Linked DNA regions of Homo sapiens: all the other regions are linked to region 2. The links are contacts of gene promoters, found by promoter capture Hi-C in blood cells and fetal thymus (Javierre and others, 2016). All regions are on one chromosome and are shown on one strand. The core of a region is centred on a gene start or on the middle of the fragment in contact, and the rest is flanking DNA. Distances in the headings are between cores, read along the strand shown. Region 1 holds the start of CAMTA2 (calmodulin binding transcription activator 2). Region 2 overlaps ANKFY1 (ankyrin repeat and FYVE domain containing 1). Region 3 holds the start of MINK1 (misshapen like kinase 1).

Region 1 (2,700 bases), core at 116-2,615, 730 kb before region 2:
CCAGCAGGAAGTATTTCAGAACAGAAAGGTGAAGAATGGAGAGACAGGAAGCCTGGCCTCCAGGCACTTCTCTCCTCAGCCTAAAGTCTCCACAGACTGAAGAAGGCCCAGTGGGGCAGCTCTGGGGCTGCATCTGAGCCAGTGGTGCTTGGCGAAGAGGGCTGTGGATTCCCCAGCACCAATGAATACCCTGATCTGGAAGAGGAGAGAGCAACCTATCCACAGGAAGAGGACCGTTTTCTCACTCCTGGCAGGGCCCAGGTATTGTTGGAGTGGAACTGGGTGGAGTGAGGGAGTGATGTGGGTCTCTGGTCTTGCATGGAGATGCAGAAGCTGAGAGCCAGGCTGGAGAGCTGGATTTGAGAGAAACAAAAATAACGTAGGTGAGAACCAGAGACTTCGAGGTACCTAAGCTTGGGTACTAGGAAATCTGGAAAGAAGACCTACTTTTCCATTTTCTTTTTCAATTTCTCTCATCTTGACAGCTGCTTTGGTCTCCCTGGAGCCCCCTGGATCAGGAGGAGGCTTGTGCCTCCAGGCAGCTGCACTCTCTGGCCTCGTTCAGCACTGTCACAGCCAGAAGGAACCCCCTTCACAATCCCTGGGGGATGGAGTTGGCAGCGTCTGAAGAGTAAGGAGAAACCACCGATGCCGAGAGGCTAGTGGTGCCCCAGGGACCCAAGACTAGTTCCGTCACTAGAGTCACCCTCATTGCTGACATGAAGGCGTTTCCCCTTCCTTCGTCTCTCCAACTGCCTTTCCCATCCTCTGAACTAGGCATTAACAGCCCCCGTGGGCTCCCATCTCAACCCACCGCTCTCACAGGAGCACCCCAAGTCCTGTTTTCCTCCAGGCCCCGCTCCTGGCCTTGTATTCTCTCTGCTCTGTTATTAAAAAGCAAGCAAGTGGAGCCCGAGTTGTCTTTCTTCTTGGGATGCAGCGATGGAGAGGCCAATGGGGAAGGAGGGCTCCTTTCGCTTTCTCGAGGACCCAGCTACAATGAAGTCGGGCTGGGTCCCCAGACAAGGAGTCTTGTCCGAGGCGAGAAGGGTCCTGCTCCCAGTCCAGCGTTCCTCGCCCGGCCCCTCGGGTTCCAGCACTGGTGGGCTGCCCCCGCCCCGTTCTCTCGAACTGGGAGTCAGTCGGCCGAGCTTCCGCCTCCAGGACCCTGGAATCCTGCCCCTCAGTGCTGCTGCCCTTTTGGGGACTTCCCAGCAGTCTGTCCCTCGGCCTGGCTCAGAGCCCTAGAAGCCGAGTCCCTCTGCCCAGCGCCCCACCCAGAACTCCACGTGTGCTGACCCCAGGTTCCCTTCCTGACCCTCATCCCCTTAATTGGGAGGCCCCGCCCCGTGCGCAGTGACGTTAGACGCCGCTGTCAGCCGGCGCTGGGGGGGGTCGGTGTGGGGTAGAATGGCCGCTGCCGCCGTCACCCGCGGGACCCCGGGAGGTAAGAGCCAGGGCCTCTCGCCCGCCTCTCCGCCCCCGCGCCAGAGGGCGCAGCTCCTCCAGGTCCCGACGCGGAGCGCCGCGCCAGGGACCACCGTCCCTCTTCCCGGTTCGCCCTCACCTCCCGCTTCCGTCCTCCTCCCCCGCGCCAGGGGGCGCCGCTCACCGCAGGGCCCCACGGCGGACCAGCGCGTGCCGGGGACTGTCCCGGAGACCCCCGCACCCGGCACCTGCACTGTCCCTCGCCCACCGCGTGCCCGCGGACTCTGCTCCCGGCTTCTCCAGAACATCCCTCTATGCGGGCGGGACCCTCCCACCTCGGAGGTTCTCCTGGGACCACCACTCCGCCGGGGGGCCGCCCAGAGTGCCAAGCGTCCGATCCGGCGCCGCCCAAGTGCAGCCCAAGGACCCGCTCCCGCTCCGCACCCTGGCAGGCTGCCTAGCCAGGACTGCGCACCTGCGCCCTGGGGCGGAGTCCTTACCCCAACCCCAGCTTCACTGCACATAGCCGAGCCCGACGGGCCTCCTCCCATCTCCATCCTGGACACCTGGCGGAGCCCGTGCTGAGAGCCTCCGCCAGCTCCCATCTGTTCCCCGAGGAGGGCGGGGGGCTCAGGCTGGAGCCAGAGCGGTAGATGGGGTAGGCTAGGCCTGGAGGCCAGGGGAGGCAGAGGCGTTTGGGGAGAGGGAGCTACGTAGAGAGGGCTGTCAGCCGGAGGGTGGGTTGTCCTGAGGGTGGGAATCTGGGTGTCTGGCCCAGATTCTATCAGGTCCTAACCAACCTGGAGGAGAGAATAGGTTAGGTTCAGTTATCAGATCTGCCCTTCCCCTTGGAAAAATCAAACAGAGAAGGAACTCAGGGCGTGTCTTCTAAAGGCCTAGCTTCTACCGGAGGTAGAATCTCCTGCCCTGCCCCCAGGATCCAGGCTCTCTTGCCAAACCATCCTCCAAGGACCGGATGGCCTGAGTCCCAACCCCCAGGACCTGACCCAACCATAGCCCCAGTCTGTGCAAAAGCTCAAGGTTTAGGGCCTCTGAGGCCCAAGCCCTGCCAGTCTTCTCCCCGCTCCCCCACCCCAACCCATTTCTTCCTGCTCACTCTTCCTGTCCAGTCTGCTCACTCATATTGGCTCCGGGCACTGTGTGTTGTTCTCTCTTCTACTGTCACATCACAGTCAGCCCCTCCCTCCCTTTCCTCATCCTTCCCAGATACTATGACCCAGTTCTATACCCACTCCCTACCTCATACTTCTC
Region 2 (2,700 bases), core at 24-2,523:
CTCACATCTGTGCTTTCCTCTCTCCCTCGTTCCATTAGTACATAGTTCTCAACCTGGAGAACCCTGCACAGTACAGTTAACCTGGGAGTTTTTTCTTTTTTTGAGATGGAGTCTCGCTCTATTGCCCAGGCTGGAGTGCAGTGGTGCGATCTCAGCTCACTGCAGGCTCCACCTCCCGGGTTCACGCCGTTCTCCTGCCTCCGCCTCCTGAGTAGCTGGGACTACAGGCGCCCGCCACTGCGCCTGGCTAATTTTTTGTATTTTTAATAGAGACGGGGTTTCACTCTGTTAGCCAGGATGGTCTCGATCTCCTCAGTTCGTAATCCGCCCGCCTTGGCCTCCCAAAGTGCTGGGATTACAGGCATGAGCCACCGCGCCTGGCCACCTGGGAGCTTTTAAACATCCATATTTGTGGGCTGGGCGTGGTGCCTCACACCTGTAATCCCAGCACTTTGGGAGGCCGAGGCGGGCAGGTCACAAGATCAGGAGTTTGAGACTAGCCTGAGCAACATGGTGAAACCCCGTCTCTACTAAAAATACAAAAATTAGCCAGGCTTGGTGGTGCACTCCTGTAATCCTAGCTATTCGGGAGGCTGAGGCAGAAGAATTGCTTGAACCTGGGAAGCGGAGGTTGCAGTGAGCTGAGATCGCGCCATTGCACTCCAGCTTGGGCGACAAGAGTGAGACTCCGTTTCAAAAGAAAAAAAAAAAAGAAAAGTAGTAGTGGTGGTAATTAATCACCAGTGAAGAGCTTTTCTAATCTGATGCCAAGGAAGATAGTATTTTCTGGGAAGCTGACACTTTAATGAAATATTTTTTTGTGGAAGATCCTAATATAAGCCTGGAACAAAAAATTATTCTTGTAGTTCTCCAAATAGAATGTTATCACAGCCTTTACAATCATTTCTCTTTTATCTAATGGACATAGTTAAAGCAGAATAGGTATAAAGTCATTTAGTCATTAAAGAATTACATGAAGAGACTGGGCACGGTGGCTTATGCCTGTAATCCCAGCACTTTGGGAGGCCGAGGCCAGGGGATCACCTCAGGTCAGGAGTTCAAGACCAGCCTGGCCAACATGGCGAAATCCTGTCTCTGCTAAGAATACAAAAAAATTAGCTGGGCATGGTGGCAGGCGCCTGTAATCTCAGCTGCTTCAGGAGGCTGAGGCAGGAGGATTGCTTGAACCCGGGAGGCAGAGGTTGCCATGAGCCAAGATCACACCATTGCACTCCAGTCTGGGCGACAAGAGAAACTCTTGTCTCAAAAAAAAAAAAAAAAAAAAAGAATTACATGAAGAACACTAATTCATTGCTAAAGTTTTGGCTAGAATAGAAGAACTATAGGAGTGTAGAGAAAGGAAATGCCAGGGTGATGTGAATCTAGAAAGACTGAATACAGTGTGGGTTAGAACTGGAGTGGCTGGAGGGGAGTAGAGTGCATTTACTATAGGAAATGAAGGAGCTCATTTAATTCCTGGATTAATTAATGACTAATCTTGGTGTTCTGATACTGGAGCTGAAATCTGGCATCATGGTGTTAATGGGATGCGTTCTGGCTTAAGACCACAAATCTTGAGTCTGTCTTCTGCTAATTGTGTGATTTTAGGCAACTCACTTAAGTGAGTTTCACTGTTAGTATATTACTTTTTCAATATAGTTAGAATCTGAGATGATGAATGTGAAGAACTTAACTGCCATAGGAGACATAAAAAATATTAATTCCCACTTTCTGTCTTATTGCAAAATATTACAGGAAAGTGTACATTTCCTTTTACTCCATAGAATGATGTTGACACTAATCTAGCAAAAAGTTACTAGGGCATTAAAATCTTTTACTATACAGAATTTTTTGTTTGTAAGTATAGGTGTTTTAGTTTCATGTGGCTGCTGTAACAGATTTCCACAAGCTAGATGGCTTAAAACAACAGAAACGTGTTCTTATGATTCTGGATGACAGAAGTCTGATTGAAATCAGTATCACTGGGCTCAAATCAAGGTCTCAGTAGGGCCCTATTCCCTCTGGAGGCTCTAGGAGAAAATCTTTTTCCTGATTCTTCCACCTGCAAGAGGCTGCTGACATTCCTTGGCTATTGGCTGCATCATTCCAGTCTTCAAGGACAGCATCTTCAAATTTCTCTCTGTTCTGTGTTCACAAGACCTACTCTGAGTGGGTCAGACTCCCTCTGTGCCTTCCTTTTTTTTTTTTTTTTTTTTTTTTTTTTTTGAGATGGAGTCTCACTCTGTGGTCCAGGCTGGAGTGCAGTGGTGCGATCTTGGCTCATTGCAACCTCCGCCTCCCAGGTTCAGGCGATTCTCCTGCCTCAGCCTCCCGAGTAGCTGGGACTACAGGCGCCTGCCACCACACCTGGCTAATTTTTGTATTTTTAGTAGAGATGGGGTTTCACCGTGTTAGCCGGGATGGTCTTGATCTCCTGACCTCGTGATCTGCCTACCTTGGCTTCTCAAAGTGCTGGGATTACAGGCGTGAGCCACCGCGGCCAGCCCCTGCTCCCTCTTACAAGGATACATGAACAGTTACGTGCTGCATAATGATGTTTTGGTCAATGCAGAGACACTTAGTTGTTGTTGTTGTTGTCATATAAGGTAACATTCCCAGGTTCCAGGGATTAGGATATTAGTATCTTATGGGGGTGTCATTTTTCTGCCTGCCATGGTAGGTAAAGTCGTGTAGTTTATT
Region 3 (2,700 bases), core at 27-2,526, 580 kb before region 2:
ACAGAAAGCTCTTCCACCAGAGTGTGTAAGTGCCCCACAAGGGACAATGAACGGGTATTTCCAAGAAATTCCTGCAGCATTTGCTTCCTCTCAACCCCTTTCCTTATTAGCCCCTACCTTGAGAGGTCTCCATTGCTTCCAGCCTTTAGCTAACATAAACACCCACTGCCTTTCCAAACCTTCAGCCTGACCACATGTAGCATGTGTCGTGTGTGCGCGTGTGTGTGTGTGTAAACATCCTCTTCCCAGCCCGTGCTACAGTTTCCAAAGAGAAGAAATGCCTCCCCTCCTCCCCGAGGGCTCCCAGCCCCACGCTGCTGCAGAGTTGGTCATGTAATATTCAGGGACCCTGAGACCGGAAATGCCTGGTTCTGAACTGCTGCACTTGAAACAGGAGAGAAGGGATAGGGAAAACTGAACATGGGATTGAGGGTGACGGCACGAGGGGTGGGGTAGCTGAAATTCCGACCAGGGAAAGGATGCAATTCAAGGGTGGGCGAGGCAGAGAAAGAGGGATGAGAGAGAGGCTGTCGAGACAGTTGCAAAGTCAAAATTCCAGGAGCTGAGGAAGAGGAGGGGAAGGAAGAAGATAGAAGTAAGGGCAAAGGTGGAAAAGGGCCGAAAGGAGGTAAGGAACCACAATAAAGGTTCTCCAGGTGATGGGGGAGGCTAAGTTTAGGCGAACCAGTGGGTCCCGAACCCCAGAGTAAAGGTAGGGTGGCACGGAAGTGTGGGGGCGGGGCACCACAGGGTGGGGACCGAACTGGCTCCCAGCATCTGCAGCCAGTGGAGAGAGAAGGGAGCAGAGGGCGGGGGCCCAGCCGCGGCGGGAGTCCGGGAAAGGGGCACGGGTCGCCAAGGGGACCCAAGCTGGTGGAGGGGGCGCCCGGGAGCACGTGAGGCGTGCAGCCACCCCGCTCCCTCCCCTGCGGCGGGGACAGGAACCAGGGCGAGGCTGGGGGACGGCGCGCTCACCCGCAGGGCGGACAGGTCGATGTCGTCCAGGCTGCGGGCGGGGGCTGGGTCGCCCATGGCCTCCGTGGGGAACGGGGCACCGGGGCCGCTCACGCTCCGGCTCGGTTACTCCACTGCCGCCGTCGCCGCTTCTCCCCCATCGGAGAACCCCGGGGGCGGACTCCACCGCGCCTCCCCCGGAGACCGGGGAGGGGGAGGGCCGGCGCGAGGACCGACCCACCGACTGACAGGCGCTATCTCCCCGGAGCCAGCCACCCGAGCCTACCACCTCTCCTGCGCAGGCGCGGAGCGACCGCGCACTGGGAGGGTGGAAGCGCGAGCGTGACGCGAGCGCGCCGGGGCCCCCTCCCCCTAGGCGCCGACACCTGCGCGCAGGCGCAGGCGAGCAGGCGAAAGGCGCGCGCGAGGACGGAGCGACCGCGCGAGCCTGGCGTGAAAGAAGTGGGCGGCGGCCGAGGCGGCCGCGGAGCGCGCCCACCAGCTGGTGCGCGTGCGCACACGCGTTTCCTTTTCTTTCCCTATTTTTTTTGCCCTTTCTCTCCCTTATTTCCTTCTCAGATCTCCTTTGACGCCTTTCCTTCCCTTTCCCTCCTTCTTTCGTGTGCCCAGCTGCCAATCAAGCCACCCACCTTTCCATTTGCGGGGGAAGGGGGCGGTACCCAACCCCCTCTATTACTAGGGGGTTGTTATGGTAACTCCCCACGCGAGGGCTGGGTGGCCTCTAGATAGGACGGGCTGTCCACCCACCCAATTGCTATGGCAACAGTGGAGCCGCTGAGGGAGGGGCCACTCCGTGAGAACTTGGCTGGAGAAACCACGTGGGAGTTGGGGGGCAGAGGAGGGGCACCGGCTGCCTCAGGAATGCCCTTTCCACCCTCACCTAGCAGGTTGGGGAAGCATCGAGGTGCTCTCAGATCTCAGGATAAGGAATCCTACCGCAGACGTGTATCTCTGCACCTCTTTTAACAAAGTGTTCTGCACAAAGGAACTGTTTCCACAATTATTCATTGATCACTGGAGTCGCGCGTGGAGGAAGGGGTGGCGAAGGGGAAGAGAGGGAATCTGCGTTCAGTCCCTTAAAATATAGCTTGGGTCACCTTAGATCTAGTCATGTTGGCATAGCGCCTACAGCCATTAGCCTCAGTGGAGGCTGGGTAATGCTATCTAAGAACCACGAGTCATGTTCTACCACTGAAATGCTGTGTGACCTTGAGCAAGTTGCTTTGCTTCTCTGAGGTTTTCTTTCACTGTGAAATTGAGGGGGGAGGCTGTATGATCCTCAAGAGCTCTTCTAGCACCAACACTGCCTCTGAAAGACTCCACCACCAGCCTTAATATAAACATCATTTAAGAGAGTTTAATTTAGAAGTCCTTGAAAAATAGCTGAACACATTCCTTTCTGGACCGTTTTTAGCATTTGGGTGCACAGCCAGTCGGCCCCCTTCCCTAACCCCTAGCCCATTTTCCTTGCCACTGCCCTTATTCAAGCCGCTATCCCCATTCATCTCCTATTTGGCCTTCCGGCCTGACTCCTTCAAGTCAATTCTATTTTTTTTTTTTTTTTTTTTTTTTTGAGACAGAGTCTCACTCTGTCGCCCAGGCTGGAGTGCAGTGGTGCGATCTTAGCTCACTGCAAGCTCCGCTTTCCGGGTTCATGCCATTCTCCTGCCTCAGCCTCCTGAGTAGCTGGGACTACAGGCGCCCGCCACCTCGCCCGGCTAATTT

What was found. Contacts are between HindIII fragments. The CHiCAGO score rates a contact against its expected background, and 5 or more counts as called.
Region 1: a contact is called between the fragment with the promoter of CAMTA2 here and a fragment that was not itself captured in region 2, in 1 of 17 cell types (neutrophils). The highest score is 6.4, in neutrophils.
Region 3: the fragment with the promoter of MINK1 here is called in contact with a fragment that was not itself captured in region 2 in 1 of 17 cell types (neutrophils); the score reaches 5.0 in neutrophils.

What each region holds. Positions count from the first base shown.
Region 1 is chr17:4,986,340-4,989,039 of GRCh38, reverse strand. CAMTA2 (calmodulin binding transcription activator 2) reads left to right here and starts at 1,365. Exons shown (of 23, transcript NM_015099.4): 1 at 1,365-1,447. It overlaps INCA1 (inhibitor of CDK, cyclin A1 interacting protein 1), which reads left to right. Exons shown (of 7, transcript NM_001394789.1): 6 at 96-261; 7 at 486-910. The coding sequence ends at 635. It overlaps CAMTA2-AS1 (CAMTA2 antisense RNA 1), which reads right to left and starts at 1,296. Exons shown (of 3, transcript NR_187235.1): 1 at 815-1,296; 2 at 448-624; 3 at 1-353. RefSeq lists a silencer at 1,346-1,885. The HindIII fragment of the contact is 15,391 bases long and covers 416-2,700 here.
Region 2 is chr17:4,253,830-4,256,529 of GRCh38, reverse strand. The region is part of intron 1 of ANKFY1 (ankyrin repeat and FYVE domain containing 1); the gene reads left to right. Among named protein-coding and RNA genes, the nearest start is that of ANKFY1, 8.8 kb to the left of the region's middle. The HindIII fragment of the contact is 4,992 bases long and covers 1-2,700 here.
Region 3 is chr17:4,831,916-4,834,615 of GRCh38, reverse strand. It overlaps MINK1 (misshapen like kinase 1), which reads right to left and starts at 1,276. Exons shown (of 32, transcript NM_153827.5): 1 at 976-1,276. The coding sequence starts at 1,032. RefSeq lists silencers at 726-975, 986-1,455 and an enhancer at 1,433-2,219. The HindIII fragment of the contact is 4,876 bases long and covers 1-2,700 here.